Regions from separate parts of the Homo sapiens genome. Here region 1 is linked to region 2. Evidence: promoter capture Hi-C in human tissues and cell types (Jung and others, 2019). All regions are on one chromosome and are shown on one strand. Each heading gives the region's core, a stretch centred on a gene start or on the middle of the fragment in contact. The rest is flanking DNA. Distances are from core to core; before and after follow the strand shown.

Region 1 (6,093 bases), core at 717-3,216, 330 kb after region 2:
AAAAATGTTTAGGTACATTGGAATCAACATTAACTGTACTTTAAAAGTGTTAAAAACCAGCTCTGAGACACAGGTTTTCCCAGAGCCAAGATAACATGAAAAAATTTTCATGTACTTGGAGCCACGAGAGAAACGAAGAGCCAAGTTCTGTCATCTGGTGCATATTTCCAAGGGGCCGACTAGAGCCCCTGGGACTGACTCCTCAGACCTTTCCCAGGAAAGTCTTCTAATGTCCCTAACAGAATTCACAAATGGGACCTTGGGAATCACTCGCAATGAGATAACATAGAAACATCTTTGTTTCCAAGTCATCATTTCCTCCAAATGAAGATGGAAGCTAAGCTTTCCAATTGGAAATTTCCACAAATGATGAGAATGTGTATTTAATGATTATGGCTTTATATTTCATTGACCTTATCCCCATTCAATGTATATAAAAATAAAAAAGAAGCTTAAATTCAACCAAATTAACTCTGCTTTTTAGACCTCTTTCATTTTTTAGTAGCTATAGAGTAAATATTATAGGTGAAGATTATGATACTATTCCAACATCCTCTTCAGGGATGTGAACACCGGGAAAGGGGTACAAAAAGCTGTCTCTGTGGAGCCATGGAAAGAGTGTAGACCAGGAGGCAGGAGGGGTGACTCTGGCCCAACCTCCCAGCTCACTGGTTGTATGATGTAAGGCAAGTCATATAATAGTTTTTTGCCTGTTTTATCATCTGTAAAATGAAAGGGCTGAATAATAATGATGGTGACAATAATAATAAAGGTAGCAATAATAATAGACAGGTGGGAGAGCTTGGTAGTGATCATTTAATCCTTTCAACATCCCTGTGATTTAAAATAATTGTCTCCATTGTATCATTGAGAAAACAGGCTCAGATATAGTAATTTCCTTAGCTCAATGGCAAACAGAGGTGAACTTACTGAGAAATTAATAAAGTTTAAGCTTCTGAGGCCCTTATTTGCATAAGCCCCCTTCCAAGACTCTGTACCTAACTTTATATTCTCTATCTTAAAGAGGGTTTCTAAAATTGTCTAAGTCCTAGGCCCCATAAGAATTGGATTTGCCCCTAATGCAAGCAAGAGATGAAGCTGGAATTCAAATGCAAGTGATCCAATGCGAAAGCCTGAAATCCTACTCCCCCTACTGAACCTGCTCCCTTTCAAAGATTCCTTTGTTCCTCATAGCTCTCTAAGCTATCTATTGTGGACTGAACTATGTCCTCTCTAACTTCACATGTTGAAGCCTTAACCCCCAAGGTGACTGTATTTGGAGATTGGGCCTACAAGGATAATAAGGCTGAACAAGGTCCTAATCATTTAACCTTAAGTGGAGTCCTATTCTAAGAGGATTGATGTCCTTATGAGAAAAGGAAGAAAGAGCATAGCTTTCTCCCTGTGTGTGCACCAAGGAAAGGCTGCAAGAGGACAGAGTGAGAAGGAGGCCATCTAAAAGTCAGGAAGAGACCTTCCCTGGAAACAGGATTTGCTGGCACCTTGATCATGGACTTCTAGCCTCCAGAACTGTGAGAAAATAAATATCTGTTTTTAAGCCACCCAGCATGTAGTATTTTGTTATGGCAGCTAGAGTAGCCTAATACACTATCCTATGCCTGCCCCATCCCTGTAGTTTCCTATATCTCAAATAATAGGAGTGCCTACATTTCCTTTACAGGGTCATTCCACAAAGTAGTATCTTAGCTACAGTCAGGAAAACATTTTTCTGAACCTAATTTTGTATTATTTCTCCTAGAAATTAAAATGCCTTCCTTCTCTCTGGTTTTGAGGAAACAGTGGAATATTAAATTTCCAATGACAGACAGCAGAAGTCCAAGTTCTAATATCAATTAATCCTGATTTGCTAATGATAAACCGGGCTTTCATGTGCAAGCCATTCTAGTATCCTCAGGTTTAACAACTTCATCTGCATAAGACCTTTGGTTAGAAATATTAATCAAGACTATACTACAGAAACTTTGCTAATATAATACAAAAAATACTACTTGATTCCTCTTTACACGGTGTAATAGTCACAAGTCCCTCAGTAAGAAAAGTGAATTAAGTGGACAATCCAATCACAAGATTGTTTTGAACTCAATATAGGATGCTAAACATATATCTGAACACAACCAACAGTTTATTTACATTTCTCACTGATTCCTCCGTTCTTATTTATTTAATTGACATTTACTCATTCATTCACTCATTCATGCACAAATATGTGTTTAAATACCTACTGTCATTTAAATGGGCTACAACAGTGGGTAGGCAGAATTATAAGGTGGCCTCCAGGATCCCCACCGCTGGTCTACCTGCCCTGTATAATCCTCACCCCTCGAGTATGGTGACACCTGTGAATATGATGAGATATCACTCCTCTGATTACGTTACATTAAGTAGCAAAGGTGAAGATATTTTGCAGATGTAATTAAGGTCTCTAATCAGTTGACTCTGAGTTAATGACAAGGAGATTATCCTGGGTGTGTTTGGCCTAATTAGGCAAACCCCTAAAAGAGGGTCTAGAGATAGGAGACTCTCCTGCTGGCCTTGAAGAAATAAACTGCCATGTTGTAAGAATGTCTCATGTCTAGACCCTTGGGTAGTCTCCAGGAACTGAGAGCACTCCCCCTCACCCTGGTTTACAGCCAGCAAGAAAAAAAGGATGTTAGTTCTACAGCCACAAGAAGTTGAAATGTGCCAACATCCTGAATGACCTCAAAAGAGGACTCCAAGTCTTAGATGAGACTGCAGCCTAGCCAATACCTTGATATCTGCCTGGTGAAATTTTGAGCTAACCCTAGTGAAACCCAGCAAATCTAACCCTGGACTCCTGACTCACAGAAACTGTGAGACAATAACTGTGCGTTGTTTTAAACTGCTAAGTTTATGGTAATTTGTTACAAATAATAGAAACATAATACAAACCATGAAAAATATAGACAAAGTCCCTGCCTTCCTGGAGCTTTAGATCTAGTGAGTGACACAGGCAAAGAGCAGCTCACAAACAGTATTATTTCAATTACACAGTGGTATGTGAAGAGTATGCAACAGGGTGCTCAGGGAGAGAAAGACTGAGGATGGCACCCCTATAAGGTAGGATGGTCAGGGAAGACTAGCTGAATAATGAGAGGGAAAAAAGCCAGCCATATGAGAATGAATAGGAAGAACTCCAGGCAGAGAAAACAGCAAGGGAGATGCCCTCAGCGGCACTGGCTATATCATTACAAAATTAACTCCAAGAACCACATGGAGACACTGATACATAAGCTCATTTATTCACTGAATGTTTAATTTAATATAAATGTATAACTGCCTAAAAAATATGTTTCAGTAGAGTGGGTCCCATTGGACATTAATCGGTTTAACTGCCGTTAGCGAAAGTTCTAATTATAGTAGCCTTTTAAATTTGGCTTTTCTTCAACCTTTGCCAGGTGGAAATGTGTCTTATAGGACTCACACTTAGCACATAATGGAAATTCAAAAAGACAGTTATTGAATTGAAATGAATGCTGCAACTTTATTTAAAGTTTCATGTTTGTTTGATTCTTTTAGGGTAGAATGTTGTCTCCTGTTAGGAGGACATAAAGATAAACAGCAATTAAATTGTACTCTATCCAAGACCTCTGATGTATAAGTCAAGATCTGAATGATGAAATATACAGCAGAAAGACTATATGAAGTGAATACATGCAAAATGAGGTAGCATAGGTAATTTTGGCTAGCTGACTAGTATTTATTGAGCTGTATGTAATAGGCACTCTGTGGTGTCATCAAATCCACAAAACATTAACACCACAATAGGTATTATTATTAGCACAGTTTTATTTAATAAGAAAAGTGAGGCTTCAAAAGATTAAGTAATTTTCTCAATATTATACAACTAGAATAATAAGCTGGAACTCGAATCTAGGTAACTGACTCTAAATCCCAGCCTGTGAACCACTAGCTGTAAGATGATTGCAATGACGACTAAAATGCACTGAGTTTTTAACCACACGAAAGGCATTAGACCAAGCACATTACATGTAGAACTAATTTAACCCTCAGACCAACCCCATGAAGTAGGTACTCTTAATGTTTCTCATTTTATAACTCATTTTATAGCTAAATCTCAGAGAGGTTAAGAGACTTGCACAAGGTCACTTAACCCTTGTAAGGCTTAGTCCCTTTATCCTAAAATGGGGCCTCAATACATGGACCTTTTCCCAGACAGTCTGGCACCACAGCCCACACTCAACCAGCACATGACACTGCTGCACTGGTATCAAACCTATGATCCAAAATAAAATAATACTTACTCCAAAACATACATAGCATATATTCTGTTCCTCATTACTCTGGTGTCAAGTTTACATAGCTAAACTATGTAACGTACATTTGGACATTTTAACGTCATCATTAATGTAATTCATTTTAGTTGCCTTTTTTCTTTTCCTCTGGACTGTCTAGTTATCTTCCATTGCTTGGCCAGTGGCCAGGGCTGGAGTAAGATGTTCTCTCCCGTCCCTACCCAAATCTCAAATTTGATTAGTAACTAAAATGTTATGCTCTGCAATTGAGGCTAAAAAAAATTAATTAAAATGAGTGCAAATTGCTTGTCTACATTATAACCTATTGTAATAAGTATTTTGTAAAAGTGGGGCTAATAAGACCAGGGGACTTCCTTGTTTTGTAAAAATAAGACCAAAGTGACTTCTAAATCCAAACAAAGTAGAGAATATTTCTCAAACTAAATAAGGTGACAAGGGTGTATCCTAAGGGCGGAATTACAGCTAACATATAGAAAGTTTGTATTTAATCAATTGTATTGTAACCTATCCAGGGCAACAAATGTGCACCAGAAGGGATATGGTCTGTGTGGAATCTAGAAAAGGAGATCCAAAAAGGAAACACCTGTCAGTGTTTATTCAGCTACGTCCTGGGAAGAGAGGACTCTGGGTCTACAACAGTGTTTTTCAAATTGTGGGTTGTGACTCATTAGTAGGTCATGAAATCAAATTATTGGATAGCAACTGACATTTTTAACAAGTAAAATGAAATAGATCAGAGTACACTGAATGAGGTAAGATTAAGTATTGTTTTGTGAAACTTCTGTTTCTATTATAAATATTTACATATTCATGTATGTCTGAGTGTGCATGTACTTTTTGATATGATAATGCATTTCACTCTGTGGATGAATAAATGAAAACCATTGGTAGACAAATCTTATTGAAGTTTTCTAAGCCAGGGGTTCTCAGACTTTGGGATTTCATGAAACCATAAATCAAATCACACTCCAAAAAAGGAAAAATTGGGACCTGATAGGGTCGCCAGTATTCTTATTCTGTAAAGTTAAAAGTAATTTAAAAAAAATTGTACTATAATGTCTTAAAATCAACATTTTGACATCAGTAATAACAATGACATAATCAAAAATAAAGCACATTCTTCTAAATTAAATACATTTAGTTTTATGGTAAGTCCACTGTATTGCCCTTATTTTTTTCATTTCTCTACAGATTCATGAAACCCCCCATGGCAAGGCATAATGTACCCAAAATATGAAAGATCAGTACATATAGTTACCCACAACTCAATAAAACATTTCTCGGGAATATCAATCTTCTTTTATGCCATCTTAGCATTTACTAGGCTTCCAAAATGGCCACTGTGCTTTGTTATACCAATTAGCTCTCTTTTTATTAATTAATACACAGATACTTGGATTCATATATTTCTCTCCTGTGAGTTTCAGTAGAGTGAGTTAATTTTCCCCAAATATTATCTAAGAATGAGCGGATAAGATTACATTTCTGGACCTACATACTGGAGATTTGGGTATTTTAGACCATGTGACTCTGGGAGGCAGAGTCAAAGATCAGCTCACAACAGTTCCTGCCATTATGAATACCAGTGTGATTAGCTCAAAAAGCTGACCCCAGAATTTCACATGGCGTTTCCCATGTTTTGAATGCTCTTCAAGAAAACCACCCGGTATCTCCTTGCTTCTGCCTGCTCCTGCATCCAGACTGCTTCCTCTTTCAGGATTTCTTTTAAACTTTTGTCATCTCGGCTTCTCCTTAATTCTTGCCTGGATCTGACCTT
Region 2 (5,900 bases), core at 954-3,453:
ATAAGCCTGATTAGTTACCACACCAGCCTTGCTATGGAAAATGACATGTTCTCATTCTCTGCTGTAGAGTTGTTAAATCTTGATCTATATTTATGTTGCCTTCTCTGCTGAAAGCCTGTAGCGAAAGAAATTTCTAATTCCTTGTTTTGCAATATTAGTTGGCAGCTCTATCTAATGGGTATTCTGTTTCCTTAAAGAATTTAGCTGCTCTGTCTAGAAGCCGATTTTCTGATGCCTCCAACGTCTGGTCTAATTGATCTGTTTTAATGGAGTCTTCGTCGGTGAGGAGCGAGATGCCACCGACTAGAATGCTGGGATCTGCTGCTTAATTGCCAGGAGTGAGAGACACTGAGATTCAGAAATCTTTGGAGGTGGGAGGGGAGAGGGACAGTCTCGGACGGAGGCGGAGATGTAAGATAAAGGGATGGATTTCACACAGGAAAAAAAAAAAGATTTCGTTGAGGCACTGAGGTGCTGCACGATCACATCTCTCAAAGGAGAAGTTAAAAAGCAAGGAAGTGGGAGGAGGTTGGAGGTTAAAGTACTTAAAAGGATTACTCGGGTACAATTTGTTTTTCTGCTGGTGTCTGCAAAGGATAGATAGTCCCGTTTTCAAAGTATATGAATGCCTCTTTTAAGTGATTGGGAATGGACACTAATTGCCTGTTAAATGTTATCAAATGCTCTCCTAAATTCAGGGGACACAGAAAGAGGGGCACAAAAGGAGAATTTAAATAGAAAAAGGGAGGATCCGGAGGCTTTTGAAAGCGGGGGGAGAAGAAGGAGGAGGGATAACAGAGAGGAATAGAGAAGGAGAGCGGAGAGAAGATAAACAAAAACAAAAACAGGAATCACTGAATAATCACACACCAAAAAGAAAGCTCTTCCCTATGGGGCATCCAAAACACTGAGACTGCAATAGTGACCCCGGTCATGGAAGAAAGATGTTCCTCTCCACCCTTGTCCCCGAAAGCTCTTGGTCCCGTTACTGGCGACTAAAATTCCATTAGGCTAAAGAGTGTGTCTAACTGCCTGAAGAATGCAGCAGACGGAAGGCGGGTCCCGCTATGCCGTTTGCCCTTCCCGCTGGAGAGAATGAAAGAAACGCGCAGAGCCAGAGACTCCTGCCGAGTTAGACCTTCTCTCGTCGCCCCAGGTCACCGGCCATCCGGCAAAGACCCGAGTAAGGAACGCAGGGTCACTGCCTGGGCCAACAAATGGAGCCCGCTCTCCCCTTCCCGGACGCCGCTGCCCGGCCGATGCTCCCGGCAACCCACCCGCGGCGTATGCAGAGGAGCCTTTCTCTTTCTCTCAGACCACTTGTCCCGACCAATCTGACCTTCCAAACACATCTGACCGCACCTCCCAGGTGGACACACTAATAGGCTACGGGCTGGAGAGGAGCGGGTGATGAGGAGAGGGATTCAAACCTGCGAACGCTTGGGCTGGGTCGGAGCTGCGGGGGGCCTGGGAGGAGAGAGGGGAGAAGAGAGAAGGAAGGAGAGCGCCTGCCGGGATGGCTGAGCTGCCTCGGCGAGCAGCCTTGGGGTTGCACGCTCTTGTGGGAGATGCTGCTGTTGCTTCCAGGTCGGCAAGAGCGGTTCTAACACCATCGCCTCTCACCCTCTTTCCTGTAAATCCCTAGAGAAACGTCCCTGGCCTCTCCGCCGCGACATTCCCAGCCTGCATCCCCCTACAGCCTAGGCGGCGCGCTCCCGCACGCTGGAGCGCCGGTCGCCAGCAGGACGCCCTCTCCCGCGCCGACTCGCCCCTCTCTGCCCTGCTGCTGCTGCTCCTCTGACACCTCCGCCCCCACCATCTCCAGCTCGGAGAGACGCCACCCAGCCGCGGCCCGCACTCGCGGCCCGGGGTCACGCGCGGAAGAGGGGCGCTAGTCCGGACCCCGCCTTCGGTAGGGGGCGTCCTGGAGCGGAGAGTGAGGCGAATGGTATATGAGTGTGCGGGTAGCCCACCCTGAAGCCCGAGCTTCTCATTTGAGCCATCCCCGCCTAGCCCCACTCGGGCCAGCGCCTGGCGAGCGAGCCCATCTGTGGCTTCCGCGGCCGCCTCCTCCTTGCATCCTTGCACCTCCTCGTCGACCCCTCCCTCCCGGGACCTGCATCCTGCTCCACCAATCAGAGCCCGACTGCCTCTTCCCACGTGACCCCGGGCGGGCTGAGGACCTGCTGCTTCCCAAACGCCAGAGGGATGCGGGCGGCAGAGCTCGAGAGGCGGCTGCCGGGCTGCGGGGCGCCTTGACTCTCCCTCCACCCTGCCTCCTCGGGCTCCACTCGTCTGCCCCTGGACTCCCGTCTCCTCCTGTCCTCCGGCTTCCCAGAGCTCCCTCCTTATGGCAGCAGCTTCCCGCGTCTCCGGCGCAGCTTCTCAGCGGACGACCCTCTCGCTCCGGGGCTGAGCCCAGTCCCTGGATGTTGCTGAAACTCTCGAGATCATGCGCGGGTTTGGCTGCTGCTTCCCCGCCGGGTGCCACTGCCACCGCCGCCGCCTCTGCTGCCGCCGTCCGCGGGATGCTCAGTAGCCCGCTGCCCGGCCCCCGCGATCCTGTGTTCCTCGGAAGCCGTTTGCTGCTGCAGAGTTGCACGAACTAGTCATGGTGCTGTGGGAGTCCCCGCGGCAGTGCAGCAGCTGGACACTTTGCGAGGGCTTTTGCTGGCTGCTGCTGCTGCCCGTCATGCTACTCATCGTAGCCCGCCCGGTGAAGCTCGCTGCTTTCCCTACCTCCTTAAGTGACTGCCAAACGCCCACCGGCTGGAATTGCTCTGGTAAGTCCAGAACCCCCGTCCCCGACCCTTTAACTCCGCAGAAGAACACGCGTATCCAGCACAGACCAGCCTACCCTAGCGCGCCTCCTCAGCCCCTCACCTCCTACTGCCCTAGACCCCTAATACCACCCACCTCTATCCAGAGAAACAAGGGGAACTGTTGCAGGCCCGGGGGTGAGGGGTGGTTCTGGGATGGGCAGAAAGTGCAGGTGTAGCAGGAAACCTTTGCATGCTTGCGCTTACATTGGAGCTGCGAGGATTTTGAGAAATATTAAACGGGATGGTTTTCTGGGTTCACTGTTTTGAAAGAGCACCAATCCTAGGGGAAACACTGAAACAGAAGCTTTGTCATCATTAAAGAAAAAAGTCTTACTAGGATGAGGAAGAAATAACTTTATGAGAAAGAATGAGCGAGAAAGCAATAAATCAAATGGTGACTGCAGGGGAATCGCTGATTCCTGGCAAAGGTGCCATGAGGTCGCACTGGTCTCCCGTTGAAGACCAGGTCACACAGATTCTAGAGGAGCTGGGTTTCAATAGAATTTCTCTCTCTCTCTCTCTCTCTCTCTCTCTCTCTCTCTCTCTCTCTCTATCTATCTATCTCTCTCTCTCTCTCATTCCCTTCTCTCCTAGGCGGCAAAAGACATTGGTTTTGCAGTCCAGATATGCCCCTCTCTTTGCTTCCCTAAGCTTCAAGGTAGTACAGGGGAGTTGAGAAAAAGAACACTTTGCGGGTCTCCCAGGCCGGAGTGGGCATGACTGAGGCTGGTCAGGCTCCATGTAGGCGAGCCGAGGGCGGAACCGACTTCAGTGGGCGCTGACTCCTCCATTTCTGGACAGGCTTCTGTGGAGTGGGTCAGGCACTCTTCTTGCTCGCTCGGGTTCCTTCAGATTCTGACGGCGAACGCTTGGCAGGCTTCGCTCTGCTGAAGCTTCCTAATTAAATAGGGCCAGAGGATGGGAGTTGCTGCACTCCTAGCTGGCATAGCATTTCGGTTTGACAGCCTGTAGTATACTGGGCAGAATTGTGGTGTAATTTCCTTGGCATTTTAAACTCCGTTAACATGCCTGGGTATTGTCCCCTAGGTGTGGTCTGTTCTAGTTTTAGCAAGTGTGTATGTAATTTTTCATCTTCTGTGAATATAATTTTGCTGTAGTTAAATCTGGCTCTGAATAAAGTGTCTTTCAAAGATGTATATAAGCTGAAGTGTATGTAACTTTAGAGAGGAGGGAATGACCAACTGTAACTCAGGGTGAAAGCCTGTATAGTTCCTAGTTATTACTGATGTAAATGCCAAAAGGAAAATTATTATGCATCATTCTAATTTATCCTTTACAAAGACAAGTTGAGATATGCAACCCTATTAGATTTGGGTCAATAGATTGTTCTCTTTTTTGGCAGTTTCTAAATTTGGCATTTTAATAAAACTCAACATGTTTCTATAACTTCTTGATTCATGCGTACATGTGTGTTGTTTTTGAAAGAATAAGTTTCACTTTGCTATTGCCTAATCACTTTTTAGATGCTTTATTATGGTAATAATTATGAGCCTGCAAAAACAATTTTTGGAAATGTTGATGGCTTTGTAGTCCAACACAGACTGGTTTGCTTCATTCCTAGCCCTTGCATTGTTTTAGGAAATAACTAACTTAAATGTGAAGTTGACATTTGCAATCAAGAAATTACATATTTACCAGATATTTTAAAGGGGACTGCATAAACTAAAGAGAATAAACTGGTTTTGCAGATAGGTTGTCAAGAACTTGGCACCCCGCTTCCACCCCTGTTAACTTAGAGGTGATCAATCTTCATTTGAGCCAAACAGACCATCACAGAAAACACTGTGCCTGTTTATCTTTATTATTGAGGCTTTGTTTCCTCTTTGTCTGGATACATTTCAAATAAGGGGTTGTTTCAGTCGTTGAAGCAAAAGAACAATTAAAGATGGGGAAATGGTAAAAGGGTATTCAGAGATCATCACTAGCTCTTTTCCAAAATGTGGAGTTTTGTGGTCATAAATATTGTCCACCTAATGAGCAAAAAATAAAAATAAAAAAAAAACAGGAAGCAAATGTTAAGCTTTCATTCACCACTGTCAGTATTAACGCAAGCTTTAAAAAATAGCACTATCAGAAAAGGATACTAAAGGAGAATTGACTAGAAAAGAATTGTGGAAAATGGAAACGAATATTGATCACTTAACTAGATTTTGAGGTTATCAGTAGACAGTGACCTTGCAGTACAGCTATAGTTGTTGGATTTAAAATTTAGGACAAGTATTTTAAAGCTTCAAAGTAGTGCTTTTTTTTGTTAAAAATCTGTAAGATGTTTTAATGACTGGAGTGTTCTCTTTGAATTTGAGGTTATGATGACAGAGAAAATGATCTCTTCCTCTGTGACACCAACACCTGTAAATTTGATGGGGAATGTTTAAGAATTGGAGACACTGTGACTTGCGTCTGTCAGTTCAAGGTAAGAAGTCTTATATTTGCATCTTCTAATTCATTAATGAGACTGCAAAGCAGGAATCTTCCTTTACAGCCTATCACTTGGAAATTTATAGCTATGCAAGCTAAGAGGGAAGCTGGCACCAAGCAAAAGTACTAGCAAGAGAGCCAACTGATGTCAAGAAGACATACGCTTTTTGGAGAAATGTATATGCCAAAGTTATAAATGCTGCTGGAGGTAGAAAGCTTCAGGTTGTGCTTTTGGGATGTCAAAGGAAAATTATGTTTCTCTGACCCTTCTAGCATCACTTTAAAAGTGAATTGACTGGGGATAATAGTCAAAATAGGGGGTAAGAAGTGTGGACTTATTCTTTTGTTCTTTTTGATTGGGGCTATCATCTTTTTATCTTATTGCTATCTGTTTTAATGGTCTTGGCCTTTATTATCCTTGCAACCTGACTAGGTTTTTAAGGTAACTCCTTATTAGTGTAACCTCAACACTTTGTTCTAATTTGGAAATCATGGAACTTATTAATTAGTGTATATCAGCTTTTTCATAGATACCACACTCAATTAGAACTGAATCCCCTAGGAATCCAGAAGAGCATTTAGATCCACAAGTCATTTTATGAACATCAGGAAATGTACTTTTTCTTGTGTTAATTTCTT

Evidence for each region. The method cuts DNA at HindIII sites, captures the fragments that hold promoters and counts their contacts. A contact is called where the count stands out against the background at its distance.
Region 1: a contact is called between a fragment that was not itself captured here and the fragment with the promoter of TMEFF2 in region 2, in 1 of the 25 tissues and cell types used here (mesenchymal stem cells).

The regions. Positions count from the first base shown.
Region 1 is chr2:191,856,461-191,862,553 of GRCh38, reverse strand. The region is part of intron 1 of CAVIN2-AS1 (CAVIN2 and TMEFF2 antisense RNA 1); the gene reads right to left. Among named protein-coding and RNA genes, the nearest start is that of CAVIN2, 12 kb to the right of the region's middle. The HindIII fragment of the contact is 3,138 bases long and covers 398-3,535 here.
Region 2 is chr2:192,191,236-192,197,135 of GRCh38, reverse strand. TMEFF2 (transmembrane protein with EGF like and two follistatin like domains 2) reads left to right here and starts at 2,203. Exons shown (of 10, transcript NM_016192.4): 1 at 2,203-2,783; 2 at 5,147-5,256. The coding sequence starts at 2,612. RefSeq lists an enhancer at 1,682-2,257. The HindIII fragment of the contact is 5,375 bases long and covers 1-3,300 here.